6 separate regions of the Homo sapiens genome follow, and all the other regions are linked to region 3. The links are contacts of gene promoters, found by promoter capture Hi-C in human tissues and cell types (Jung and others, 2019). All regions are on one chromosome and are shown on one strand. Each heading gives the region's core, a stretch centred on a gene start or on the middle of the fragment in contact. The rest is flanking DNA. Distances are from core to core; before and after follow the strand shown. Region 1 holds the start of ATXN2L (ataxin 2 like). Region 2 holds the start of RABEP2 (rabaptin, RAB GTPase binding effector protein 2). Region 3 holds the start of PPP4C (protein phosphatase 4 catalytic subunit). Region 4 holds the start of TUFM (Tu translation elongation factor, mitochondrial). Region 5 holds the start of CLN3 (CLN3 lysosomal/endosomal transmembrane protein, battenin). Region 6 holds the start of SPNS1 (SPNS lysolipid transporter 1, lysophospholipid).

Region 1 (4,475 bases), core at 271-2,770, 1.3 Mb before region 3:
GGCTCACGGCAACCTCCGCCTCCTTGGTTCAAGTGATTCTCCTGCCTCAGCCTCCTGAGTAGCTGGGATTACAGGCATGCACCACCACGCCTAGCTAATTTTTGCATTTTTAGTAGAGACAGGGTTTCACCATGTTGGCCAGGCTGATCTCAAACTCCTGACCTCAAACCTCCCAAAGTACTGGGATTACAGACCATGCCCAGCCTCTTTTCACTTTCTTAAATAAGCTCCCCACTGCTTTGAGGATAATGTCCGTGTCTCTTACAAGACTTGGGAGCCTTTAAAACCTGATCCCAGATTAGCTACCTCTTCCCCCCTTTAATTTTATGCTTAGGACAAGCTGAGTTTTTCTTAGTTTGTCATATCCTATTTCCCTGCCTAGAAACCCATCTCCCCCTGCCCTCTTATCAGTTTTTTTTTATAATTTAAATTTTTTTTTTTTTGTAGAGACAAAGTCTCACTTTGTTGCCTAGGCTGGTCTCAAACTCCTGGCCTTAAACGATCCTTCTGCCTCGGACTCCCAAAATGTTAGGATTACAGGTATGAGCCACTGCGCCCGGCCCTCCTGTCCCTTATCTGGGTCTCCCAAAACTGGATTAAGATTAGGTGTCACTCCCATTTGCTCTTGTAGTCCTCTGTGCTTCACCTACTAGATCTCGTCAAATTCTCTGAATTCACCACTAGCATGAACTCCTCCAGAGCAGGAAGCAGTTTAATTATCCTTGTGTCCAAAACAACTAACTGAATACTCCAATGCCCAACTCATTTTGAATGAATGAAGCTGCCTTCATTGCAGGGTCGGGTGGAGGATTTTGAACTCGGAACTTTGGCCTTCAGTCTTTGTTATTACAGTTTAAAGATTCATTCTCGGGCATGGAGGAACAATTTAGGTCAAAATCACAAAAATCTGAAATAATTTAGGACGAGGCGTAAATTTATCTGCAAAGATCAACACGCTCAAACGAATCACTAATGCTCATCAGTCTTTTACTTAAAGCAAACAAGGTGGAGGGTAGCTCCTTGCGAAACCTACCACCTGCCTAAAAGCGCAGTGGCTCGGGTGGTCCAGTCCCGGAGACTTTCTTGGCACTTAAGGCTCTGCCCACGGGCCGCCAAGTGGCGGAAGAGCCTCACGCACGACGTGCCGCCTCACACTCCCGCGGAGGCATCGCGACGCAGCGACGGCGTGGGCGGAGAGGCCGGCCCTTCCTCTGGCGCCTTCGGCTCCTCCCCCTGCGCCTCACACGCTCATTGTGAAGCGACAGCGGCCGCCGGCTTCTAAGGCGGTTTGAGACCTTAAGACCCTAAATCCTTGGCGCGCGTGAGCGCCCGCGCCGCTCCTTACCCACTCCCAGGGCTAGGGGTGCGAGGTTCACCGACTTGATTCTCTCCCACTTTCCCGCCGGGAGCTAACCGCGCCGGTGTGCGCGGCACCTCGCGCCACTGCTCGCTCCTGGCCCCCCCCCCCCCCCCCCCCCCCCGGGAGCTCCCACCCGCGCGCTCCTCCCTCTCCGCTCCCCGGCGACGCGCACGCGCGCCAGCCCGGCTCGCGCCCTCTCGCTTTCCTCCAGCCGCGAGACCCCCTCCCCTTCCGCCTCGCGGCGCTTCCTCGCGCCGCGGTCTTCTCTCTCCACCCCCGACACCGCGGGGCTCCCCCCGCCCGCCCACGGCGGGCCCCGGCTGCCCGATCCCCCTCGCTTCCCGCGCTCTCCAGCGGGGCCCCAGCCCCGGCCCCCTCTCTCCCTCCCTTCTCTCTAATTCCCCTTCCGGACGCTGCCATCATGTTGAAGCCTCAGCCGCTACAACAGCCCTCCCAGCCCCAGCAGCCGCCCCCCACGCAACAGGCCGTGGCCCGTCGGCCCCCCGGGGGCACCAGCCCTCCCAACGGCGGCCTCCCGGGGCCGCTGGCCACCTCTGCGGCTCCTCCCGGGCCTCCAGCGGCCGCCTCCCCCTGCCTGGGGCCTGTGGCCGCTGCCGGGAGCGGGCTCCGCCGGGGAGCCGAAGGCATCTTGGCGCCGCAGCCGCCGCCGCCGCAGCAACACCAGGAGAGGCCGGGGGCAGCCGCCATCGGCAGCGCCAGGTGAGAAGGGTGGGCTCCGGGCGAGGGAGCCGCGGCCACCCAGAGGCTGTGGCTCGGTTCCGGTGGGGCGGACCCCGACCCGGCACCGTCAGGGGCACCGGCTGGGTGGGGAGTCCCCGTGAAGCTGGGGGAGGGCCCCCTCAGGTCCGAACAGGTCGGACGGAAAGGGTCCCCGGGCGGCCACCGGAGCACTGAGGGGCCGCGCTCGGCTCTCGGGGCCTAGTCAGGGCTCGCAGCCCCGGCCTTCAGGGGAGGCGGGGCGCATCCCGCCGGCGCCGTCGGAACGGGGAGTTGGGGGGGGGCAAGGAGCTGATCGGGGTCCCCGGTTCCATTACCACGAAGGGTCTCGCGGTCCCCGGCTTCAGCCAATGGGGAGTCTGCTGCGGGAAGGGGTCCCCGGCCGTAGCCAATGGAGGGGGGCGCGCGGCCCACAGTTTGGCCAATGGGGAGGGAGGGACTTGGGAGCGGGTTGCTGCCTCCCCCTTCCCGGTCTGGCCAGTAGGAGGGGAGCGAGGTGGGCGGGGGGACGGAAGGAGGGATGACTGGGAGGACTGCGGGCCGGGAGCCTCTGGCGCGCGCGCCCCCTTCCCGTACGTGCGCGTGGATGCTCGGTCTCATGACCCGGGCATTCGCGCGCCCCGGGAACACCTAGGGCAGGGACTAGTTCGTGGAGGGGCTCGTCTGGTGGCAGTGCATGAGTAGTGGAGGCCCTGCTCAGTTTTTCCTGTGCGAGTGTGTGTGTGTTAATGGAATTAAGAGTGGCAGCACACGCAGGCGCAGTGGGCTCTGATCGCTGGAGGTGGGGGTTCGGAAAGTCCCGTGGGTTTTAGTGCGCAGGCGCAGACCGGGCGAGGCCTCCCGGTGGATGGCTTTTGCGGCTGCGCTGTCCCCCAGCCCCGCCAGCGGCCCCCTCTTCGCCCTCAACCGCCGGTTACATCAGCCAGCGACGAGCAGGGTTACCTGGCGATTGGTGATCCCCGCAGAGTGGGTAACGGGCTGAATGAGTCATGAGGTCGAGGGGATGGGGTGTGGAGGGGATACCCCTCCTCCCACAGTTTTGAGGCGTCAGGCTGCTGAAAATGATTGTCTTTTCTGTTTGGGAGGTAATGTACCTGAGCTAGGTAGTTCCAAAGCTGCACTCCTGGAGCTTTTGCCCTCACAGCTGGCGTGGCTTTTTGGTTAATACTGTAGCATTGATCTGTTGGTAGCCTGCAGCCCTAGCCCCTTTCTCGTTGGTTCTTAGAGCAATTGACAACCATTGTTGATTGAGATCTTTTTGCTGGCATTTGGAGGAAATGTGTTTGCTGGCTTATTAATGTCTATTTTTTTCTTCCTCTACAAGGTGACAGTTTGAAAATCTTATTTATTGGCCGGGCGCAGTGGCTCACGCCTGTAATGCCAGCACTTTAGGAGGCAAAGGTGGGAGGATCCCTTGAGCCCAAGGAGATCGATACCAGCCTGGGCAACACAGATGGGAAATCCCATCTCTACTAAAAATTAAAAAAAAAAAAAGCCAGGAGTGGTGGTTCGTACCTATAGTCTCAGCCACTCGGGAGGCTGAGGCAGGAAGATCACTTGAGCCTTGGAGGTTGAGGCTACAGTGAACTGAGATCACGCCACTGCACCCCAGCCTGGGCAACAGAGGGAGACCCTGTCTCAAAAAAAATAGAAAAATCTTACTGATTAACAATTTTGTAGTCTAAATCAGCATCATCAGGTGGTATATACTTCTAGGATTTAACATTAATTTCATAGTGGTCTAAGAGGGCTTGAACAGACTTAAGTAATTTCTTGTTTTCTTTTATAGGGGACAGAGCACAGGAAAGGGACCCCCACAGTCACCTGTGAGTGTCTTCTCCCACCCTGTTTAAGATACATAGACCTAAAAGATGCATAATGTGGGAATATAGGGCACATTAGGTCTAGATAGAGTCTAATGTACTCAGGAGGGCTGTGGGCCCGGCACACACAAGGCAGAATGAGTAGAGTGCGGCGGGCATTTAGAAAAGAAAATGAGGTGTTGACTGATTACTCCTTTAATTCTCCCTCTTATGTTAACTGACAGGTGTTTGAAGGCGTCTACAACAATTCCAGAATGCTGCATTTCCTTACAGCTGTTGTGGTAAGTTGGTACTTAACCCCCGGGTTGTTTAAGGAACGTAATGCATCTACTTTCTGGAGACACTCTTCTTATTTTTCCCACTCTGCCAGGGCTCCACTTGTGATGTAAAGGTGAAAAATGGTACCACTTATGAGGGTATCTTCAAGACGCTAAGCTCAAAGGTCAGTGTACTCAAATTTAATTATTTTTGGAGTTGCAGAGTAGGAGGAGAATGAAATAGGCTCATTGAAGGTGTCAATTGGGTGATGTCAGAGTATGCCTTTAGTTGTTTCT
Region 2 (4,602 bases), core at 371-2,870, 1.2 Mb before region 3:
TCCTGAAATGTGGGAAATACAGCCCCAGAGAAGTCTCCAGCCACCAGCAGCTGTTAGAAAGGGAAATCGCATGTTGGGAAGGGAATTTTAGGAAGTTTACTCTGGAAGCCAATGTCAAGGCCACACTATAGAGGAAGATCTGTGAGAAGGTTGGGACAAAAGTCCAGGAGAGAGTTGACGAGAGCCCCACCGCAGCAGGGGCATAGCAGCGGGGGCAGCTCTGACATCTGTTTCAGAGTCTCTGGCTTCTGCTAGAGGAAGGAGAGTAGAAAACAGGATCAGCAGCTGGGGCGTCTGGGGCCAGAGGACCAAGTACAAAGAACGTGGGGCGGAGGTGGGGAAGCTGGTGCATGGCGTGGGGTGGAGGGGGGAGTGTCTGGGGAAGGCTAGAGAGCAGAGCATTAGACTCACAGAGACTGGGCCAGGGCTGATTCTATTTCCCAGAAGTCCAGACTAAAATGAGGTTGGTTTGGGGAACTGAGAAGTTTCTCGCCCATCTTCAGGGTTGATCAATCATCAGTGAGGGACAAGAAATGACATGGGACAAGGCAACAGATAGAAGCTGGGAGCTAAACTTAGCTATAACTGACAGAGCTGCTGCTATCACATGGAGGGCCTCTATGCAAATTTTAAAAGGGCGGCCCTTCCTCTGGGCCATAGGCATGCCCTGTGCCAGGCAGCCCTGCTAACCTATCCCATAGCTTATCTGTGCCCCCAATCCCTTTCTCGTCATGCACTCCCCAGTATGGGGTTGATGGGGAGTCTAGGTGAGTCCCGCGTCTCACCTTTCAGGATGGCCTGCAGCGAGGCCACCTCCTCTTGGCACTGCCGCTGCACCGCAGCCACAGCCTCGGCCTTCGTGCTCTCGCTCACCTCTGCCACAGCCTTCATGGTTTCCATTTCTGCCAGGGCGCCTGCCAGCTCAGCCCGAAGCCGGCTGAGCTCACCTGACTCGGCCTCACCATTTGCCCCTTCCTGGGACCGGGAGTCCTCCAGTGCTGTGGGGGACAGGGATCAGCCTCTCTTCCCATCTCTTACCCCAGGCCACCTACCGGCTTAGCAAGTCCTGCAACCTAGTACTGTTGCCTTCATCTGGGGCCTCCTTCACCTGGGCCCGCCCGGCTCACCTGGCCCCGCCCCTGCCCCGCCCCCTTCCCACTCGCTCTGCCGGGTGCTGCCTACACTCCATCTCTTCGCGGTGGCCAGTTTCACTCAGTCCTCTCTTCGGTCCCACCTGGCCCCGCCCTCCTAGTGGCCGCGCCCCTTCCTCACCGGGCCCCACTTCGCACCTGTCACTGGCCCTACCCCTTCAATGGCCGGGCCACGCCCCCTTTTGCCTGTGGCTGTAGGCCCCGCCCCCTTTCCCGACGGCGTGGCCCCGCCCCTTCCTCCATCATCCCTCTCCACCCCCCATCCGCAGGTGGCTGGCTCGGCCCCGCCCCCAGCATCACCGTTCCCCGCTTGCACGGACGCCCCCTCACGTACCAGCCCCCGGCCGCCGCCGCCGCTCATCGTCGTCCGCGGCCACCGGCGCAGCTGCCGCCATTGCCTCAGCGCAAACGGCGGATTCCCGCACTCCCTGGTGACGGAGCGCACCGCTTCCGGGTCCTCTCGGCTGTTTCCGGATCCGCTCGGCTGTTTCCGGATCGGCCCCGGGCTGGAGGCCCCGGACGGAGGATGGGGGGATTGCCGAGCCTCGGCCGAAGATTCCCGAGTCGGCCCCCGGCCCCGGCCCCGGCCCCGCCCCGGCTCTTCTTGGCTGGGTCGCGCGGTTCGGGAGGACGCCTGCCTTTCAAGCCCGGAAGAGGATCCTTAAGAGGTCTTGCCCGGCGTCTCTCCGTGACCTTGGAAGCCCTGCTCCAATTATGCCTCCTCCGGGACACCGGCCTGCGGAGAGCTCCCCCTCGCTCCCTCGCTGCCCCTGCCCGGAGCCAGCCTTTGATCGGCTCCGGCCGCCCTTCCGCCCGAGCCTGGCTTGCGTTACCGCGAATTGTGGCGGGGCCCTCCCTGCACCTCCGCCCTCTTGGAGCGTCCCTCGGGGCAGGGCCGGGTCGGCTTCATTTTTCTGAGCGCCTCGGAGTCCCCGCGTAGTTAGTCGGAGTCTGAAACTTGCACGTCCCCACCCCCATTTTGTTACTCAGCCAGTCACCGCTTCCTGCTGGCCCCCCTTTCCTCCTCCCAACGCCCTCAAATCCCTCCTCTCCTCTCCGCCTGTGTCTAGATCAGGCTCTTTATCTGTGACCTCCACCCGGACGGTGACAGGCAATTCAGATTTATGTCCAGAGCCTTGGTTCCCCTTCCCTCAAACCTTTTTTCCCTCTGTAAAGGACACGCCAGGAACCTGGAAGTCCTTGATTCTACGTGTCCTCCTGCAAGTCCCGTAAACTCTACTTCCAATGTGCTGACTATTCCAGAATGTGCCCCTTTTTCTCCATCTCCAGCGCTAACACTCCGTCCCAGCTCCCATCACTTCTCCTGAACTTCCGCAGTGTCGACTCCACCCTTTAATTAATTAATTCTCCGTAAAGCAGCTGGAGCGATTTTTGTAAAACAGATAATGCAGTTTGAAAATGGCCAAAGGTAGAACGCTTTTACACTGTTGGTGGGAATGTAAATTAGTTCAACCATTGTGGAAGACAGTGTGGTGATTCCTCAAAGACCTAGAACCAGAAATACCATTTGACCCAGAAATCCCATTACTGGGTATATACCTAAAGGAATATAAATCATTCTATTACAAAGATACATGCACGAGTATGTTCATTGAAGCACTATTCAAAATAGCAAAGACATGGACTCAACCCAAATGCCCATCAATGATAGACTGGATAAAGAAAATGTGGTACATATACACCATGGAATACTATACAGCCATAAAAAGGAACGAGATCATGTCCTTTGCAGGGACATGGATGAAGCTAGAAGCTATTATCCTCAGCAAATTAATGCAGCAACAGAAAGCTAAACATGCATGTTCTCACTTATAAGTGGGAGCTGAACAATGAGAACACATGGACACAGGGAGGGGACCAACACACATGGGGGCCTGTGGGGTGGGTGTTGGGAGGGGGGAGGGAGAGCATCAGCAAGAGTAGCTAATGCATCCTGGGCTTGATACCTAGGTGATGGGTTAATGGGTGCGGTAAACTACCATGGCAGATGTTTCCCTGTGTAACAAACCTGCACATCGTGCACATGTACCCCAGAACTTGAAATAAAGAAAATGGACAAAGGATATGAACGGATATTTCACTGCTGTCACAGGTGGCAATATGTGCATGAAAAGATGTTAAACATCATTAGCTATTTATTCGGGAAATACAAATTAAAACCACAATTGCTTTCATCACTACGCACTTCTTGGAATGGCTAAAATAAGAATGCTAACACCAAATGCTGGTGAGTATGTGGAGAAACTAGGTTTCTCATATTTTGTTGATGGGAATGTGAAATGGTATAGCCACTCTGCAAAAAGAGTATGGCAGTTTTGAACAAAACTAAACACGCACTTACTTTTTCATCAAGTATAAAACCAAGTGTTTTCCACCAAGCTTGGAGCTGAGGTCTCGGCTCAAATGTTACCTCCTCAGTGAGGCCTTCCCTGATCACCCTAACTAAAATAACCACCTCTGGCTGAGTGTGGTGGCTTATGCCTATAATGCTAGCACTTTAGGAGGCCAATGGCAGGAGGATCACTTGAGCCCAGGGGTTCGAGACCAGCCTGAACAACATAGTGAGACCTCATCTCTACAAAAAATTAAAAAATTAGCTGGGCATGGCCGGACACGGTGGCTCACGCCTGTAATCCCAGCACTTTGGGAGGCTGAGGAGGGCGGATCACGAGGTTAGGAGATCAAGACCATCCTGGCTAACATGGTGAAACCCTGTCTCTACTAAAAATACAAAAAATTAGCCGGGCATGGTGGCATGCGCCTATAGTCCCAGCTACTTGGGAGGCTGAGGCAGGAGAATTGCTTGAACCCGGGAGGCAGAGGTTGCAGTGAGCTGAGATCATGCCATTACACTCCAGCCTGGGCAGCAGAGCAAGACTCTGTCTCAAAAAAAAAAAAAAATTAGCTGGGCATGGTGATGTGCATCTGTAGTCCAAGCTACTCAAGAGGCTGAGGCGGGAAGATCTACTTGAGCCCTGGAGGCTGAGGCTGCAGTGAGCATGATTGTGCCACTGCACTCCAGCCTGAGGGAGAGAAAGACCCTGTCTAAAAAAAAAAAAAAAAAATTAAATCCAGACTCCCTGTGCATGCAGCAGGGTTTCTGGGGAAGGGGCTGAAATAATGACTAGAAATCAGCCTCCAGTCAGTTTGGGGAGGGCCTTCCTGACAGCTCTCAGGTTTGAGTTTATCCTGCAGGCCCTGGGAGCCACTGAAGGCCATTGAACAGGGGAAGCACATGACTAACATCAAAGAAGTTCTCTTGACATGCGGAGTGTAGATGGGAACCAAAAGATATAGGGGACAGGGAGCCCAGGAGAGAGGCTGTTGAATTGCTTCTGATTGTGAAGGAAGGATTCAGAGGGGAAAATTGATTCCATCAATATTTAGGATATAAAATGGACTGGCCTTGATGATAGAGTGCATGTGGGGG
Region 3 (4,627 bases), core at 1,442-3,941:
CCTCCCAGGTAGCTGGGACTACAAGCGCATCACCAAACCTAATTATTATTATTTTTTATTTTTTAGGATAGACAGGGTTTCACCATGTTGGTCAGGCTGATCTTGAATTCCTGACCTCAGGTGATCCACCTGCCTCGGCTGCCCAAAGTGCTGGGATTACAGGTGTGAGCCACCACACACAGCCAGGTTCAAATTTCTTTCTTTTTTTTTTTTGAGACAGAGTCTCGCTCTGTTGCCCAGGCTGGAGTCCAGTGACGCAATCTTGGCTCGCTGCACGCTCTGCCTCCTGGGTTCACGCCATTCTCCTGCCTCAGCCTCCCAAGTAGCTGGGACTACAGGCGCCCGCCACCACGCCCAGCTATTTTTTTGTATTTTTAGTAGAGACGGGGTTTCACTATGTTAGCCAGGATGGTCTCGATCTCCTGATCTCGTGATCCGCCCGCCTCAGCCTCCCAAAGTGCTGGGATTACAGGCGTCAGCCACCGCGCCCAGCCCAAGTTTCTTATTCTTTTTGTTTATAGACTGGGTCTCACTCTGTTGCCCAGCCTGGTCTTGAACTCCTGGGCTTAAGTGATTCGCCTCGGCCTCCCAAAGTGCTGGGATTACATGCTTGAGCCACCACACCTAGCCCCGGATTCAAATTTCAGTGTAACATCCCCAATCCACTGTTATACAAGCAATGAACAAGTTATTTAACCCCTCTGAGCCAGTTTCCTCCTCTTAAAAAAGGCACAAAACTTAATAGAAAGCAACTAAGAAGCCAGGCACGGTGGCTCAAGCTGGTAATCCCAGCACTTTCCGAGGCCGAGGAGAGTGGATCACCTGAGGTCAGGAGTTCGAGACCAGCCTGACCAAAATGGTGAAACCCCGTCTCTATTAAAAATGCAAAAATTAGCTGGGCGTGGTGACGGGTGCTTGTAATCCCAGCTACTCAGGTGGCTGAGGCAGGAGAATTGCTTGAACCCAGGAGGCGGAGGTTGCGGTTTGCCAAAATCGCTCCACTGCACTCCCGCCTGGGCGACAAGAGCAAGGAAGGCTCTGTCTTAAAAAAATAAATAAATGAAAATACAAAAATTAGCCAGGCGTCGTGGCACATGCCTGTAATCCCAGCTACTTGGGAGGCTGAGGCAGGAGAATCGCTTGAACCTGGGAGGCGGAGGTTGCAGTGAGCCGAGATTGTGCCACTGCACTCCAGTCGGGGTGAAAAAGCAAGACTCCGTCTCAAAAAAAAAAAAAAAAAAAAAAAAAGAGGCCGGGCACGGTGGTACACGCCTGTGGTACAGCACTTTGGGAGGCTGAGGCAGGTGGATCATGAGGTCAGGAGATCGAGACCATCCTGGCTAACACGGTGAAACCCCGTCTCCACTAAAAAATACAAAAAAATTAGCCGGGCCTGGTGGCGGGCGCCTGTAGTCCCAGCTATTCAGGAGGCAGAGGCAAGAGAATGGCGTGAACCCGGGAGGCGGAGCTTGCAGTGAGCCGAGATGGCGCCACTGGACTGCAGCCTGGGCGACAGAGCGAGAGAGTGAGACTCTGTCTCAAAAAGAAAAACGGAAGCAACTAAGAAATGTCAAGAGTGCCATTTTGGAATCAGAGAAGTCATGCTGACTGAGGCACAGGCTTGGCGTGGGAAAAGTGGACTCCAATCTGTTAACTTCTGAAGTTGTCCACGGCAAATATTTCTCTGACGGCACAGGAAGAGATCTGAACTTGGCTTCCCTCATCCATTGAACAAGTATTAACAAGTATCTATATATGCCTACCGTGCCAGGCCTTATTCTAACCACTGGGGCTGCAATATTTAAAAAGACAAAGTTGGATCCTCCAAGGACTGTGGTGGGGAAGGCTGACAAAACAAGTAACAAAAATGTGTAACATTAAAAAAAAAGTGTAATGTTAAAAAAAAAAAGTGTAATAAAGTTACAAAGCCTAGCCCCAGCTCGGCTTGTTTCCCTAGCTGAAATGGGGGATGGCCGGGCGCGGTGGCTCACGCCTGTAATCCCAGCACTTTGGGAGGCCCGAGGCGGGAAGATAGCTTGTGCCCAGGAGTTCGAGGTCACAGTGACCTATGATAGCCCCACCGACTCCAGCCTGAGCGATAGAGCGAGACCCTGTCTCTAATTTAGAAAAAAGAAAGTTGTGGCCGGGCGCGGTGGCTCACGCCTGTAATCCCAGCACTTTGGGAGGCCGAAGGGTGGTGGTGGGTGGGGGCGCGGATCACCTGAGGTAGGGAGTTAGAGACCAGCCTGACCAACATGGAGAAACCCCGTCTCTATTAAAAATACAAAATTAGCCCAGCGTGGTAGCGCATGCCTGTAATCCCAGCTACTCAGGAGGCTGAGGCAGGAGAATTGCTGGAACCCGGGAGGCGGAAGTTGCGGTGAGCCGAGTTCGTGCCATTGCACCCCGGCCTGGGCAACAGCAAAACTCCGTCTCAAAAAAAGAAAAGACAGTTGTTTAAACATTTTTATGAAATGATATGGGAGGGGACTGGTCTAGGGTTTCTAATAGCCTCCACATCGCCCAGCGGCAGAGCCCACAAAACTGCCACTGGCCGCCACCGGGTTCCTCCACCTCCTTCCCGATCTCAGGCTGGAGAAGTGGTGCAGGGGTCGCTGCGAAAGGAGAGGAGCGTGTATGACGCCACATCCGGCGCGCGGCGGAACTGGCCTCCTTTGCTTCCGCGGCGGGGCCGGAAGTAGGAGCGGCGGCGGCGGCGGCGGCGGCGGTCGAAAGCGGAGTGAAAGAGGGAGGCAGGGAGCCGGAGAGCCGGAACCGGAGTCGCAGCGGCGGTAATAGTGCGAGACTCCTCTAAGTCACCGTCCTTAGCGCGGGACCGCGGGGTTCGACGGGAGTTAGCGGGGGTGCGGCCAGGCCGTTGGACGCCGGGGGGTCCTGGGGCCGATGTGAGGGGAGGCGGGGGTGGGGGAGCCGGGCCGGCTCTAGAATCGAGTTGTCCGCTCCGAGCCCCGGACGGACACTGATCCGCGGGCTCGTCTTGGCCTTTCCCAGGAGACCCCTGTGCGGTGCGGAGGGGGCGGCGGCCCCGACTCTGACCCGCGCCGGGGGTGGGCCATGGCGGAGATCAGCGACCTGGACCGGCAGATCGAGCAGCTGCGTCGCTGCGAGCTCATCAAGGAGAGCGAAGTCAAGGCCCTGTGCGCTAAGGCCAGGTGAGCTCGTTGGCCCTGGGGAAGGGAGGCCAAGCCGCCGCCCACGGGTTCTGGCCTGGGGCAAACCCAACTGAGAACTTTGGGCTTGCCTCGTTCTGGAAGCTTTCCCAGAGAGGAGCAGGATGGAGCCGCTGCCCTCGAGGAAAAGCTAGCCTGCTCGGGGAAGACAGAGTGGATAAAGACACTTAAAGTTTATTAGACGATGTGTTTCCAGTGGAGTAAGAGTGTTACATAAAGTACTTAGGAAACTCAAGGAAACAAGTCCATCTGTCGGGGGACGGAAGCTTGTTGGAGGGGGGCCGAACTGTGGGAGAGGCCTCGAATAAGGAGGTGGTAAAAGAGTCAGCCAAAAACCAAAAGTTTAAGACAGGAAAGTTAAAGACCCTGTGATTTATAAAAGTCTTCTAATTACAACAACCCTTAAAGATTGGTGGTATTGTACTCATTTTACAGGTGGGAACTTTCATGTTCAAAGTTACCCACAAGTAAGGAATGGGGTCTGAAGCCAGCTCTTAGTGTCCTGTCCTTTTTCAGGCCATAATGCAAAAAGGTGGAGTTGGATCATTCACGTTCAGGGTGGGAGCCTGAGAAATCGTAGCAAGTAAGCCAGGGTAGAATTAAGCACGATAGGGAGGCCAGTTCAGAGTTCTGTGGGAAGTAGGATGATGTAGTGGTTAAGGCTCTAGGTTTTGCAGTGTGAGATGGCTCTAGGTTTGAATCTGAACTCTGCCGCTTTCTAGCTGTGTTAGTAATCTTAAGTGTCTTTATTTGTAAAGCAGAATTAATAGTACTTAATAAGATGATTGTGAAGATTCAGTGAGTTGGTGCTGGAGATGAGGTTAGCACAGTGTTTTGGTACAGCATACGTGCTTGATAATCACCAGGTATTCTATTTCTTTTGGAAGAGGGCAATAATGAGATGGGCTAAAGCCATCAGGGAGGGCTTTTGAGTGGAGGTAGGCCTTGAAGGATGAAGATAATTTGGCTAGCTGATGGAGGCAGGGCCAGTGAGGGAAGGGCATTCCAAGCAGGACGAATGTAACAGTGGAGGCCCTGAGATGCGTGGGGAACAGTCAGGGGTTTAATTACCTGCCTCCTCTGGGGAACTGTGTGATTGTGGCTTCTACCAGGCTGGAGAATTGTGGCAGAAGAGCCCACAGAATTACCCTACGTTTATTGAACAGTAAACATTGGCCTTTACAGGGCCACTATTTGGCCTGGCCCGGTACTGGCAAAAAACTTCTATCCATCTCTTCCCCCCAGCAATCCTATGAGGTTGGAATCATTTGCTGCATTTTATCGAATAGGAAGCCATGACTCGTAGAGGTCTGGTGACTTAACTGAGGTCACCCACTGAGGACGTGGCAGAGCTGGGTCCTGAATCTGTGGCCCTCAGGCTCTTTGCCTGGCCCTGCCTCACATAGACTACCTGCAGCCAGACAGGGCCTGTGAGG
Region 4 (4,510 bases), core at 2-2,501, 1.2 Mb before region 3:
TCTTCAGTTCACATCCATATAGCCAAGTGTAGCAGTTAGAAACTCAGGCCCACCTTTCTCTACCATCTCCTCACCACCCATTCTGCGTGGCCAAGACCACAAACCTGCCATCTCATACCCAAACACTGAATATCTTAATCTCCTCCCCACAAGCCTAACATTTATCCTGACAAGAGGCAGCTTCTGGCCCTGTCTCCAGTGTCCCAGCAACCCTCACCTTAACATAATCTGCATGACCCGGGCAGTCTGTGTGGGCGTAGTGGCGGGCGGCAGTGCTATACTCCACATGAGCCGCATTGATGGTGATACCCCGAGCTCGCTCCTCCGGGGCATTGTCAATCTCCTCGTACTTCTTGAACTTAGCCCCACCTCCCTCAGCTAGAACTAAAGGAGGAAAAGAACACACCTCTCAGCTAAAGTTCCAGTGCTAGAGGCAGAGCTTAGACCACGCCCCTGAACCCTCCCACCTAAATACATAACCTCCTCCAATCTCTAACTCTTCCAGCAGAGAGAACTGTGGGTCAGAAAGAAATGTTAGAGGGCCTTAAGGGTCTGCCCTGTGACTTCTTTAGGGTACAGCCTCTGCTTGCAGAGCATTCCCCACGACTTTGTGATCCCCAAGCCATTGGTGGATCACAAAGTTCTTCCTGTTCAGGAGAAATTTGTCTCTTGCATCTCCCAATCCACCTGTCGCACAAATTCGGGCTCTTGGGGCCACAGTAAACTCCTCCAGCAGACACTCTGCTGGCCTTGCCTCCCTGGCTCCAGGTCCCATCAGTAGATAGGGCGCTGCTGGACGCCCCAACCCCACTCACTCTTCGTGATGGCTGCAGTCAGCGTGGTCTTCCCGTGGTCCACATGGCCGATGGTACCCACATTCACATGTGGCTTGTCGCGCACGTAAGTCTTCTTGGCCTCCACGGCCAGGCCGCGGCACAAGAGAGGCAATGCCGGGGCTTTCAGCAGCCGCAACAGACCCTGCAGCAGGAAGGTCCGGCCGGCGGCGAGACCTGCCGGGACCGAAGCTTGGAGTCAGGCAGGGAAGGGGTCAGACCGAACCCAGCCACCTACCACTCCCCCAAAGTGTTCCTGGGCCGCCATCGCCCTCCCTGACCACTCACCGCTGAAGTGGGGCGTCGCGCGCAGCAGGGTGGCGGCCGCCATTGTGGTCATACTCGCGCCCCGGTAACCGGGGAGCCGGGACCAGGAGCCCGAGCGCACAGAAGAAGAAGGGCGCCTGCGGCTGGAAGGCACTTCCGGCGGAAGTTAGAGCTGGGAGGGCAAGTCCGGGCCCCTCTAGCCGCCAGTGTCTATGGCCGTCTCAGCCGACGTCGGGCGCGCGGCTGAAGACGTCATGGAGGGGGCTGGTGTCTCGAGGGCGGAGTATGATGGAGAGGTTTTCCACCACTCGCGCCTCTCGGGCTGAGGGGCAACGTAGTTCTCTCTGGCGGTCGCAGGGGGCACTGAGGAGCGTCCCCTAAATCACCGGCGCCGCGAAGGCTCATGGGCGTAGTAGTTCTCAGGTCGGCGGGCTGTGGAGGTGATCAGAGTGGGAGTCAGGCGGGCTAGGCCGGACCCGGAGGGAGGGGCTCGGGCTCCGGGAGGCAGCTGCGGCTCCGACTGCTCAGGAACCTCCTCCTGGGCCCGGCAGAGAGAGACCCCGAGTCCCCCGGAGTCCGACTCGCTACGCGGGTCTTGCGAGATATCTGGCCGCCTCTGCCGCAGCTGGAGGTAGGGGACCAGGTCCTGGACGCCTTTCGGGGATGGGGTGAAGTGTGACCTCCCTCTTCGCTGAGACTTTGTTTTCTAATCTGTAAAATGGGAATAGTAGTATCCACTTCATAGGGAGAGCCTGACATCTAGCCCTGAGAGGAGATGAACTGGGTAGGAGTCAGTGTTGGGCCCTGTGAGGTCAGGCAGCTTGCGGGGACCCTGTACTGCTAGACCTCACAGGGCCAGAGCCCACAAGACAGACAGCTTCGCTGCCCACCCCTGTAGTCCCTCAGCAGCCTAAGGAGCAGTTCCGTTGGGCATCGCCCCACCCATCTAATTTTGCAGATGAGGAGCCAAGGATGAGGAGCCAGCTAGGGGAGCCTTTAAGGGGAGCCTGAGTCTCCTTTAATCTGTCGGTGTCCCCAGCACCTAACAGGGTGGAGCATGCAGTGAATGTTGAATGAATGGGTGCAAGGGTAGTCAATGTCCCTTAACTTTCACATCCATCATCTCATGGCAGCTTCCACAGGGCACTCCAAAGTGTTAATTATGGCTGCTTAACCCTGGCTAATGTTTCGGAACTCATCAGATCCTGAGACTCAGTGGACAGTGTTTGTTTCAAATAGATTCCCTAATTCCTCCCCTGGAGGTTATGATTCCGTGGGGTCTATGCACAGACTGGGAAGCTATATAACAAACACTCTTCTAAAACTGAGAAGAGGCTGGGCACGGTGGCTATAGTGCCAGCCTATAGTCCCAGCAGTTTGGGAGGCTGAGGTGGGAGGACGGTTTGAAGCCAGGAGTTCAAGACCAGCCTGGGCAGATTAGGAGACCCTATCTCTACAAAAAAAAATTTAAAATTAGCCAGGCACAGTAGCATGCAGCTATAGCCCCTCCTACTCAGGAGGCCGAGGCAGGAGGATCGCCTGAGCTCAGGAGTTCAAGGCTGTGGTGAGGTATGATCATGACACTGCACCCCACCGTGAGTGACAGAGAAAGACCCCATCTTTTTTTTTTTTTTTTTTTTTTTTTTGGAGACAGAGTCTCACTCTGTCGCCCAGGCTGGAGTGCAATGGGGCGATCTCGGCTCACTGCAACCTCCACCTCCTGGGTTGAAGCAATTCTCCCACCTCAGCCTCCTGAGTAGCTGGGACTACAGGCATGTGCCACCACGCCTGGCTAATTTTAGTATTTTTAGTACAGATGGGGTTTCACCTCGTTGGCCAGACGGCTCTCGAACTCCAGACCTCAAGTGATCCGCCCATTGTGGCCTCCCAAAGTGCTGGGACTACAGGCGTGAGCTACCACGCTCAGCCAAGAAAGACCCCATCTCTATAAAAATATTTTGGCCAGGCGTGGTGGCTCACACCTGTAATCCTAGCACTTTGGGAGGCCGGGCGGGTGGATTGCTTGAGTTCAGGAGTTCGAGAACAGCCTGGGCAACACGGTGAAACTCTGTCTCTACTAAAATACAAAAAATTAGCTGGGCGTGGCAGTGTGCACCTGTAGTACCAGCTACTCAGGAGGCTGAGGCAGGATAATTGTTTGCACCCGGGAGGCGGAGCTTGCAGTGAGCTGAGATGGTGCCACTGCACTCCACCCTGGGCGACACAGCGAGACTCCGTCTCCAAAAAAAAAAATTTTTTTTCAAATGAAAACTCAGAGGAGTTTAGGAAACTCTGAACTAGAGCTTTATGATGTTCAGGCATTCCTATTGTTTCACAATCAGCGCTCCCAGTGCTACCCTGGGTAGTAGGAACTATTATTTCCTCCATTTTGCAGGTGTGAAAACTGACGGTCAGGGTGATTAAGGAATCCACCACCACTAAACCCCAAAAAGTGTGCACACCGCACTGTCCTTTTTTTTTTTTTTTTTTTTTTGAGACAGAGTCACACTCTGTTGCCCAGCTGGAGTGCAGTGACACGATCTCGGCTCACTGCAACCTCCATCTCCCAGGTTCAAGCGATTCTCCTGCCTCAGCCTCCCGAGTAGCTGGGATTACAGGCGCCTGCCACCACGCCCAGCTAATTTTTGTATTTTTAATAGAGACGGGGTTTCACCATATTGGCCAGGCTGGTCTTGAACTCCTGACCTCAAGTGATCCACCCACCTTGGCCTCCCAAAATGCTGGGATTATAGGTGTGAGCCACCATGCCCAGCCAGACTGTACTATAATTTAACTCTCATTTTACTGCTCAGATAAAGTGAGGAACTTGCTAAGACTTCTCTCTTCCTGGCCCTCCAGTTAATCAGTTCTGCTTAGGAAAGGCTGGTATCATGTGTAGTATAAACAGATTTTGTTTTTGTTTTTTTGACAGAGCCTTGCTGGGTCTCCTAGGCTGGAGCATAGTAGGGCAGTCACAGCTCACTGCAGCTTCAGCCTCCCAAGCTCAATCTACCTCAGCCTCCCAAATAGCTGGGATTACAAGCATACACCACCACACCTGGCTAATTTTTGTATTTTTTGTAGAGATGGGGTTTCGCCATGTTGGCCAGGCTGGTCTCCCAATACCGGGGCCCAAGCCGTCTGCCCACCTTGGCCTCTCAAAATGCTGGGATTACAGGCATGAGCCACTGTGCCCAGCCTAAAAGGGTTTTCTGTTTCTACTCTGTACCTAAGTCACTGTACTCCTAGGAATTTATCCTAAGACACTATTGGCCACTAGCAAGTTATGAGTTTTTGGGGGTGGTATTTGAATTAATGGTTTATATTTTTGTGGTGCTATATTTATTTTAATGTGTATTAGCTTGAAAAAAAACTGGCATAATAATCAAGTTTTTAAAAAAACAGATCAA
Region 5 (4,511 bases), core at 232-2,731, 1.6 Mb before region 3:
TACTAAAAATACAAAAAAATAGCCGGGCGTGGTGGCAGGCGCCTGTAGTCTCAGCTACTCCGGAGGCTGAGGCAAAAGAATGGTGTGAACCTGGGAGGCGGAGTTTGCAGTGAGCCGAGATTGCGCCACTGCACTCCAGCCTGGAGGACAGAGAGAGACTCCGTCTCAAAAAAAAAAAAAAAAAAAAAGGTTCAGGCCCGGCATGGTGGCTCATGCTTGTAATCTCAGCACTTTGGAAGGTTGAGGTAGGAGGATCACTTGAGGCCACGAGTTTGAGACCAGCCCAGGTCCCATAGTGAGACCCCCATCTCTATAAAAAAATATAAAAATTAGGCAGATGCGGTGGTGCACACCTGTAGCCACACCTACTTGGAGGCTGAGGTGGGAGAATCACTTGAGCCCAGGAGTTCCAGGCTGCAGGGAGCTGTGATTGCACTACTGCATTCCAACCTGGGAAACAGAGCAAGACCCTGTCTCAAAAAGAAAAAAAAATAAGATAAAATAAAATAAATTAAAAAAATAAAAAAGTTTTAGTAGTGATGCATTTATTTAAACGTTCACTAGGAAAACGCTGGTTTTCCAAGTGGAGTCGTGATTTAAAGTTTTCTTTTTAAAAATATGTGCACTAAAAAACGTTAAGGCTGAATTGGCTGGAAGAAAAAAGTAAATAATCCTACAGGTGGTAGGTATGAGGATCTTGCTAAATCCGGAAGGTGATAAGGAGTGAAGTTTGGAAATTTTACATGCTGCCCCTGGGGCAAACCAGTGGATTCAGTAAATATTTGTGGGTTCAGCTCCTTTGCGCAGCTTAACTCTTTCTTCCCCCTTTCCTCCGGTCACTTCCCTCTTCTCATGCCATTGTCACTCGCTGAAGTCTCAGGCCACTCACCAGAAGCCCACCGCGTTCTTCCAATGCGCGCCCTGATGGTCCAACAGAGGGAGCCGGGGCTCCGGGACGGTCTCCTCCCCTGGGAGAGCGAGAAGAGGGCATGACCCCCACCTACTCTCAGGTGCACGACCGCTCCTTGCGTGTCCTCCCGGGGCCGAGTCAGCTCTCATTCCCCTCAGGTGGGCTGCGAGCCAGAGGTGGTCGTTCCATGAGGGTGGGCGGGAATACTCACCCTCGGAATCCGAAAAGCGCCGCCGCGAGCCTGCACAGCCTCCCATCGCATCAAGTTCAGGTCCCCCGAGGGTCCAGGGTCATAGAGTGTCCAAAGGGGGCTCCCACGGGAGGGATGAGGGTCTGCGACAGGTGACAAGGATCAACGCCCGATTGCCGGTCCCAGCTCCGGCTTGTCTAGGGCACTCGCGCCCCGCGATCCATCAAGGAAGCTGGGGGCTCCATCTCGAGCGCCCTACGACCCACCACGCCCCACCCATCGTACTCTCCCCCGCCCCGTCTACAGCAGGGACCCTGAGGCCTGTACCTTTAAGAGCAGCAGAATGTTCTGCACTATGCAGAGGCCGTTTGTCGGATCACGTGACAGCACCCGCGTGTTCCCCCATCACGTGCTCAGAGGTTTTCCCTACTTCCGGGTCCTCTCTGTCTTCGCTTTGGGCCTTCTCGGCTTCGGAGCGTGAAAAAGGGAGGGGCTGGAGAACCCTGGAACCGCAGGTTTTAAACTGGAGCGGGTGGGAGCAGCAAGCAGAGCCGTGACCTTAGATCAGTGGCGCCCAAGACCGAGACAGTAGCCTGCCAGCACCAGTTATGACTGTGGGAGGCTTCAGCTCCTTTCCTTCAGCACTCACTTGCCAGAAACAAATATGGCCACCTGCCTACTCCCTTTTTTTTTTTTTTTTTTTTGAGGCAGGACTGTTTCTGGTTGCGAACAAAGACGACCAGCTTCAGGTCATTCTTATCCCCATCTGTTGACCTTACAAATTGTTTTAGAGACCTAAGTAAACATAACACTCATCTAAAGGGATTTCGTGAATGATCTATTGGCAGTATCCAAGATGTTAAGAGATCCCTATTTCCAAATTATCCTAGAACCAAAAAATATCACAGCACTTCAACCCCTGGTGTTACAGATGAGAAAACCAAGGTACAAATATATATATATATATATATAACAAAATTAGCCGGGCATGGTGGCGCATTCCTGTAGTCACAGGTACCTTGGAAGCTGAGGTGGGAGGATCACTTGTGCCCAGGAGGTTGAAGCTACAGTGAGCTATGATCACGCCACTGCACTCCAGCCTGGGTGACAGAGTGAGATCCTGTCTCAAAAAAAGAAAAAGTAAAAAATAAAATAAAAAAAATATATGTATATGAAAAAAATTGGAAAGTTGCTGACAATCATTCATACAATGTTAGACCTAAAGGTGACCTTAGAGACCTGTATGGTGATAAGAAATAGAGCACCAGAGGCAGGGAGCCATTGGGTTGGCTCCAGGCTGCTGCAGGATTCCTGCCTCCATCAAAGGTGGTGCTTAGACCAGATTTTTTTTTTTTTTTTGACAGGGTTTTGCTCTGTTGCCCAGGCTGGAGTGCAGTGGCAGGATCTTGGTTTGCTGCAACCTTGACCTCCCAGGCTCAGGTGATCCTCCCACCTCAGCCTCCCGAGTAGCTGGGACAGCAGGTGCGCACCACTGTGCCCAGCTAATTTTTGTGTTTTTTGTAGAGACTGGATTTTGCCACGTTGCCCAGGGTGGCCTCAAACTCCTGAGCTCAAGCAATCCACCTGCCTTGGCTTCCCAAAGTGCTAGGACTACAGGCGTGAGCCACTGCACCTGGCCAGACTAAATGATTTTAAGGCCTAAGATTCTGATGCTGTGATTTCATAGAATTGCCCTAATTGGAATAGGAAAGTGGGGCTGGGGAGGGGAGAAGGAGGGTATGGGGAAGAGAAGTAGAGCAAGGTCACTTTATGTAGTTCCAAATAAGGAATCATACCCTTACCTTCTTCTAGGTGGAAAGCGGCATCCTGCATTCTCTTCTTGTCCTTGGCCTCATCTCTGCTATGGGCTGTGCCACCTCTATATGCTCTTTCTCACCACCAGGCCTTCAGAATGCAGTTGGAAATGTGCCCTCTCGTCTGGGTGTGGTGGCTCATGCCTGTCATCCCAGCACTTTGGGAGGCCAAGGTGGGCAGATCACCTGAGGTCAGGAGTTCGAAACCAGCCTGGCTAACATGGTGAAACCCTGTCTCTACTAAAGATACAAAAATTAACCAGGTGTGGTGGCACGCACCTGTAATCCCAGCTACTCGGGAGGCTGAGGCAGGAGAATCACTTGAACCCAGGAGGCAGAGGTTGCAGTGAGCTGAGACTGCGCCACTACACTCCAGCCTGGGTGACAGAGTGAGACTGTCTCAAAAAAAAAAAGAAAAGAAAAGAAAAGAAATGTGCCCTCTCTAGTGTGCCTCCCAGGTCACTCAGCTGATGGAAAATGGAATCCTACTAACGTGCAGGGCTCTAGAAATTCAGCAGCGTTTCATACATGGCATCTGCCATCAAGGAAGTCACAGGAAGGTGGGAGGCAGACACAGATATCCACAATATAAAGTTTAGCCAAGTTCTTTTTTGCAAGCCTAATCATAGGTGAGGGGATGCACCCCAGAGCCACCAATCCGGCCCCTTCCGCCCCTGGGGGAAGCATTAATGACGCCGAAATGTGTCAGAGCTCCCACCAGCCCCCTCTTCACTGCTACTCTTTCTTCCCAGGCAAAACAGGAACCACAAACCCCAGCTTCCTCTTGCAGAGTGGCTGTGGCTTGTAGGGGAGGCAGAAATGGCTGAGGTGCGGATACGAGACCTGAGTCACTTGAGCTGCTGTTGCCACATGTCCCCTCCCTCTCCCCCTCCCCAGTTCTAAGGTCTCCTGCTCCCACTTTGTCCTTTCTGGCCTCTTGCTTGTCCTTTATTTCCAAATGTGCACCTGAGTCCCCTGTGTGATGTACACCCATTTCCCGGGCTGCAGTGGGGGCTACTGTGGGCATCAGGGGCCGTGGGCAGGGCCTGGGGTGGGGACGCATCAGGGAGACAGGGGAAGAGGAAGTGCCTTTGGTCCTGGGGAAGGTTGGCTTGTCTTGGTGGGTGGGGACGGTCATTATCAGCTTTCTGGACACACAGACAGAGACAGACAGGATGGACTTCCTCCGGCTATACCTCCCTGGGCTGCACCAGGCCTTGAGGGGGGCACTGGTGAGAAGGGCAGACAGCTGCCAGATACTTGCACCCCATTCCCTGGGGCCTCACTTCCGGGCACCTCCCCTGGGGCCTCACCTTTCCCCTCCTCCTTCTGATCTCCTCAAACTGGAGATTGCTTTCTCAGGTTCAGGCAGACTCCTGGCCTAATATTTTCTGAATTTCAGTCCCCACCTCCAACCATGCGTCCTCGTACCCCTAATCGATGCCCCTTCTGGCTCCTTCTGCAAATCCTCTTCTTCTCCTTTCAGATCCCAGTACCCTCTTCCTTAACCTGGGCTCCTCCAGCCAGGGCCCCCAGGGAAAGGGCTGGGACTCTCCTCAATGACTCTCCCCTCTCTCTCTCTTTTTTCCTAGGATTC
Region 6 (4,814 bases), core at 1,899-4,398, 1.1 Mb before region 3:
TTTGAGATGGAGTCTCGCTCTGTCGCCCAGGCTGGAGTGCTGTGGCACGATCTTGGCTCACTGCAACCTCCGCCTCCTGGGTCCCAATTTAAGCAATTCTCCTGCCTCAGCCTCCTGAGTAGCTGGGATTACAGGAACACGCCACTATGCCCAGCTAATTTTTGTATTTTTAGTAGAGATGGGGTTTCACCATGTTGGCCAGGCTGGCCTTGAACTCCTGACCTCGTGATCCGCCTGCCTTGACCTCCCAAAGTGCTGGGATTACAGGCATAAGCCACTGCGCCCGGCTAATTTTCTTAATTACTATATTTAGCAAGAATCAATATTGTTATCTTTAAAGCAAAATTAGGAATGCTTTGTTCTCCATATATTGGGATATCTGGACACTCCCAAGTCTGGGTCTGTTTAGTAAACATTATATTATTATTATTTGAGATGGAGTTTTGCTCTTGTTGCCCGGGTGGGAGTGCAGTGGTGCTCTCTCAACTCACTGCAGCCTCTGCCTCCCAGGTTCAAGTGATTCTTCTGCCTCAGCCTCCTGAGTAGTTGGGATTACAGGTGTGTGCTACCATGCCCGGCTAATTTTTTTTTTTTTTTTTTGAGACGGTGTCTCACACGGTTGCCCAGGCTGGAGTGCAGTGGCACAATCTCGGCTCACTGCAGCCTCTGCCCCCTGGGTTCAAGCAGTTCTCTGCCTCAACCTCCCGAGTAGCTGGGATTGCAGACGCCCACCACCACGTCTGGCTAATTTTTTGTGTGTGTTTTTAGTAGAGATGGGTTTTCACCATCTTGGCCAGGCTGGTCTTGAACTCCTGACCTTGTGATCCACCCGCCTCGCCCTCCCAAAGTGTTGGGATTACAGGCGTGAGCCACTGCGCCCGGCCTAGTAAACGTTATTGTTTCCTTAACCATAAACATGTCGAGTCTAGGAATGCCTTACTTTCTGTAATTCAGTCCAGCAAGTCCCAGCCTTATTTTCCTAACCGTCACTCAAGATGGAGTCACTCTGGTCCGAACGTCTCTGACAGTTCATTCCTTTTTCTTGTTAAGCTATTCCCGTTGTATGAATAGATTATGCCCCTGTTGATGGACATGTGGATTCTTTTCATTTTTGGGCTATTATGAATAATGCATTTATGAACATTCATATACAGGTTTTTGTTTGGACACGTTTTCATTTCTCATTGGTGGTTACCTAGGAGTGGAATTGCTGGGTCATATGGGAAGTGTATATTTAATTTTTATTTATTTAGTTTTTTTGTAGAGATGAGTCTTGCTTTGTTGCCCAGGCTGATCTTGAACTCCTGGGCTGAAGTGATCCTCCCACCTCAGCTTCCCAAAGGGCTAGGATTACAGGCATGAGCCACTGTGCCTGGCCAAAAACACAATTTTTAAAATGGACAAAAGAGCTGGGTGCAGTGGCTCACACCTGTAGTCCTAGCATTTTGGGAGGATGAGGTGGGAGGATTGCTTGAGTTCAGGAGTTCCAGACTAGCCTGGACAACATAGCGATAACTCATCTCTACAAATATAAAAATTAAAATGACACTGGGCATGGTGGCTCACCCCTGTAATCCCAGCACGGTGGGAGGCTGAGGCGGGCAGATCACTTGAGGTCAGGAGTTCAAGACCAGCCTGGCCAACCTGCTGAAAGCCCATCTCTACCAAAAATACAAAAAATTAGCCGGGTGTGGTGGCACGTGCCTGTTATCCCAGCTACTTGGGAGGCTGAGGCACAAGAATCGCTTGGACCCCGGAAGTGGAGGTTGCAGTGAGCCGAGATCCCGCCACTACACTCCAGCTCCAGCCTGGGTGACAGAGCAAGCGTCTGTCTCCAAAAAAAGAAAGAAAGAAAAAAAAAAAGAGTTCTTTACATGGATACAAGTCCTTTGGCAGATAGATGCTTTGTAAATATTTTCATTCAACCTGTGGCTTGCCTTTTCACTTCAGAGGTGCAATTTACAATGCGTATCACTCTCTAGATAAGCTCCACGAGGGAAGGGAGTAAGTCTGCCTTTCCCTGAAACCTGGTAAAATGCCAGGCACATACATGTTCAATAATATCTTGTTGAGGGAATTAAATGCCTGCAACCTGAAGTTCCTGTCCGCCAGGGGAAACCAAGCTTAAGGTTCTGAAACACGAGGCACCTAATATGGGGGGGGGGGGGGGGTTAAAGCCAATTATGGGTATTCGGACTCGAAATAGTTTCTAACAAGGCGTTTTGGGGTTGGGGGATGCTCTCCCCACGAGATTCCAGGATTTCAGTAGAGGGCCTTTAAGGGCTGGTTGAAAGATGGGTCTTGAAGCTGTATTTGCACAGAACTATACTAATTTTACTTAGAGTGCTTTATTAGATGTAGCTTGGAGATTATAGGGTGCCACTAAAGAACCACTCCCAAGTTATCCCTTTGACCCTAGTCCTGCAGCTGGGAGTCTCCTTAGGCTAGGAGCTCCTGCCTGCCCTACAAAAGCCCACCGGAGGGCGCAAGGGCTCCAATCCCGATTGGAGTGAGGAAAAATATGCTCCAGGAGCGGCGGGTGGAGACGCTTCCTTTAATAGGTATTTAAGTGTCCACGGTGAAGGCTCAGGAGTTTACAAGGCTAGCAGGGTTGGGGAATCTCAACAAAGGGCGGGGCGTTGCTCAAGCTCCATCCGTCCGTCCGTCCATCCCTCCGTCCCTCCAATCCTCCATCCATCGCGCTGCTCAAGCTCCATCCATCCATTTATCCATCCATCCATCCATCCTTTATTGAGAGTAAAAAGCCGCCAACCAGACCCTGGGAGGAAGACAGGATGGTTCCCGAGAACTAGGGCTGCTCCTTGGCTTTTAGAGGTATCTACTACTTCCAAAACCTTTTGAGACCCCATTATCCCGTTTGATGAAGATGGAGTCTGCCACGTGGGGGTTCCAGATAAGACAGCTGAGATTCGGAAGGGCAGGCGACTCCACCTAGTCACGGGGACGCTCTTTTTGACGCTCCAGGGACCGCAGGGTCTGGGAAAGTTCCTGGTTACTCCGGCGACCGGCCGGCCGTCACATGACATGTGAGCCCGGGCGGAACGCCCAAGAGGCTTCCGTAGTCGGGTGGCAGGTCACGTGTCGAAGGCTTGCCCGCGGGGACCCCTTCCACCCTGGCTCCCGCGTCACATGACCGGCTTTAAGCAACATGGCGGCTGCCGTGGTGCAGCGCCCGGGCTGAGCGACAGCAAGTGCAGCGGGCTCCTACCCCGGGTGAGGGGTGGCCTCCGCGTGGGATCGTGCCCTCTTCAGCCCGCTCCTGTCCCCGACATCACGTGTATTCCGCACGTCCCCTCCGCGCTGTGTGTCTACTGAGACGGGGAGGCGTGACAGGGCCCGGGTCCCTTCTCAGTGGTGCTCTGTGCTTCAGGGCAAGCTCCCCGTCTCCGGGCGCACTTCCCTCGCCTGTGTTCGGTCCATCCTCCTTTCTCCAGCCTCCTCCCCTCGCAGGTGGGATCGTCGGTGGGACCGGAGCGCGGGCGGGCGCGGCCCCCCGGGACCATGGCCGGGTCCGACACCGCGCCCTTCCTCAGCCAGGCGGATGACCCGGACGACGGGCCAGTGCCTGGCACCCCGGGGTTGCCAGGGTCCACGGGGAACCCGAAGTCCGAGGAGCCCGAGGTCCCGGACCAGGAGGGGCTGCAGCGCATCACCGGCCTGTCTCCCGGCCGTTCGGCTCTCATAGTGGCGGTGCTGTGCTACATCAATCTCCTGAACTACATGGACCGCTTCACCGTGGCTGGTAGGGACTCACTTCTGGGAGGAAGATAGTCTAGGAGAGGGGAGCCAGGGTCCCGAGGGTGGCGCTGCTTTGCCGGACCATCCTGAATTTTCTCCTCAGGCGTCCTTCCCGACATCGAGCAGTTCTTCAACATCGGGGACAGTAGCTCTGGGCTCATCCAGACCGGTGAGTGGGGACCACTCCTGGTCACACAGCCGCTCCTCCTTCTGTTCTGTCTCAAGTGGGGCCACGCGCTGGCCTGTCTAGGGGCTCATTAATGGAGGTTTTGTGGCCAGTTAGGGGAGGTGATGGCCCTGATGTTGCTCGGGGGTCAGCGGGACACCACATTTAAAGAGGGAGTCAGTTTAGTATAACTAAGTATAACTTCACCCAGGTGAAGACAGACCTGGGTTTAAATCTCAGCTCTTCCACTTATTGTGTGATGGTAGGCAAGGCACTCAACCTCTCTAAGCCTCATTTTCCTTGTCTATAAGATGGAACAAGTAATAACACGAATCATCTCTTAGGACTGATGTGAAGATTAACTAAAAGATTGTCTGTGAAGGGCCTAGTGCAGTGTTTGGCACATGGTAGACACCCAGTAAATAATGGCAGGAGGGTTGGGTGTGGTGACTCACGCCTGTAGTCCCAGCACTTTGGGAGGCCAAGATGAGTGGATCACTTGAAGTTAGGAGTTCAAGACCAGCCTGGTCAACATGACGAAACCCCATCTGTACTAAAAATACAAAAATTAGCCAGGCATGGTAGCGAGCGCCTGTAATCCCAGGTACTTGGGAGGCTGAGGCATGAGAGTTACTTGAACCCGGGAGGCAGAGGTTGCAGTGAGCCGAGATCGCACCACTGCACTCCAGCCTGGGTGACAGAGCGAGACTCCATCTCATAAATAAATAAATAAGTAAAGGCAGGAGAGGGTGTCTGGAATGGGGAGAGGTGTGTTTTACTTGTTCACAACTTTGGGACTTGTGGGAGAGGCAAAGCTAGAGCCAAGCCCTTTTTCTTCCTTCCATCCTTCATTCATTTCTCAACCATTTCTGAGTACTCATTGTGTGCC

What was found. The method cuts DNA at HindIII sites, captures the fragments that hold promoters and counts their contacts. A contact is called where the count stands out against the background at its distance.
Region 1: the fragment with the promoter of ATXN2L here is called in contact with the fragment with the promoter of PPP4C in region 3 in 1 of the 25 tissues and cell types used here (spleen).
Region 2: the fragment with the promoter of RABEP2 here is called in contact with the fragment with the promoter of PPP4C in region 3 in 1 of the 25 tissues and cell types used here (lymphoblastoid cells).
Region 4: a contact is called between the fragment with the promoter of TUFM here and the fragment with the promoter of PPP4C in region 3, in 1 of the 25 tissues and cell types used here (dorsolateral prefrontal cortex).
Region 5: a contact is called between the fragment with the promoter of CLN3 here and the fragment with the promoter of PPP4C in region 3, in 1 of the 25 tissues and cell types used here (spleen).
Region 6: a contact is called between the fragment with the promoter of SPNS1 here and the fragment with the promoter of PPP4C in region 3, in 3 of the 25 tissues and cell types used here (dorsolateral prefrontal cortex, small bowel and spleen).

What each region holds. Positions count from the first base shown.
Region 1 is chr16:28,821,479-28,825,953 of GRCh38, forward strand. ATXN2L (ataxin 2 like) reads left to right here and starts at 1,521. Exons shown (of 22, transcript NM_007245.4): 1 at 1,521-2,080; 2 at 3,888-3,924; 3 at 4,146-4,202; 4 at 4,292-4,363. The coding sequence starts at 1,782. LOC124903672 (a long non-coding RNA gene) reads right to left here and starts at 2,564. Exons shown (of 2, transcript XR_007065042.1): 1 at 2,416-2,564. RefSeq lists enhancers at 800-1,536, 1,048-1,257 and a silencer at 1,578-2,727. The HindIII fragment of the contact is 10,837 bases long and covers 1-4,475 here.
Region 2 is chr16:28,923,618-28,928,219 of GRCh38, forward strand. It overlaps RABEP2 (rabaptin, RAB GTPase binding effector protein 2), which reads right to left and starts at 1,621. Exons shown (of 13, transcript NM_024816.3): 1 at 1,486-1,621; 2 at 786-998. The coding sequence starts at 1,546. RefSeq lists enhancers at 753-842, 873-1,102, 2,081-2,664 and silencers at 1,263-1,482, 1,513-1,862. The HindIII fragment of the contact is 23,237 bases long and covers 1-4,602 here.
Region 3 is chr16:30,073,303-30,077,929 of GRCh38, forward strand. PPP4C (protein phosphatase 4 catalytic subunit) reads left to right here and starts at 2,692. Exons shown (of 9, transcript NM_002720.3): 1 at 2,692-2,792; 2 at 3,013-3,173. The coding sequence starts at 3,076. RefSeq lists enhancers at 1,414-1,593, 3,216-3,305 and a silencer at 2,966-3,105. The HindIII fragment of the contact is 17,066 bases long and covers 1-4,154 here.
Region 4 is chr16:28,845,097-28,849,606 of GRCh38, forward strand. It overlaps TUFM (Tu translation elongation factor, mitochondrial), which reads right to left and starts at 1,252. Exons shown (of 10, transcript NM_003321.5): 1 at 1,122-1,252; 2 at 816-1,010; 3 at 218-384. The coding sequence starts at 1,173. It also overlaps a transcript of SH2B1 not described here. RefSeq lists an enhancer at 1,114-1,603. The HindIII fragment of the contact is 27,203 bases long and covers 1-4,510 here.
Region 5 is chr16:28,490,593-28,495,103 of GRCh38, forward strand. It overlaps CLN3 (CLN3 lysosomal/endosomal transmembrane protein, battenin), which reads right to left and starts at 1,482. Exons shown (of 16, transcript NM_001042432.2): 1 at 1,428-1,482; 2 at 1,122-1,243; 3 at 890-968. The coding sequence starts at 1,167. It overlaps APOBR (apolipoprotein B receptor), which reads left to right and starts at 4,051. Exons shown (of 4, transcript NM_018690.4): 1 at 4,051-4,146; 2 at 4,507-4,511. The coding sequence starts at 4,090. RefSeq lists enhancers at 1,364-2,153, 1,493-1,692. The HindIII fragment of the contact is 23,586 bases long and covers 1-4,511 here.
Region 6 is chr16:28,971,630-28,976,443 of GRCh38, forward strand. SPNS1 (SPNS lysolipid transporter 1, lysophospholipid) reads left to right here and starts at 3,149. Exons shown (of 12, transcript NM_032038.3): 1 at 3,149-3,763; 2 at 3,863-3,928. The coding sequence starts at 3,523. RefSeq lists enhancers at 2,886-3,005, 3,086-3,195, 3,294-3,463, a cis regulatory region at 3,379 and a silencer at 3,416-3,505. The HindIII fragment of the contact is 29,978 bases long and covers 295-4,814 here.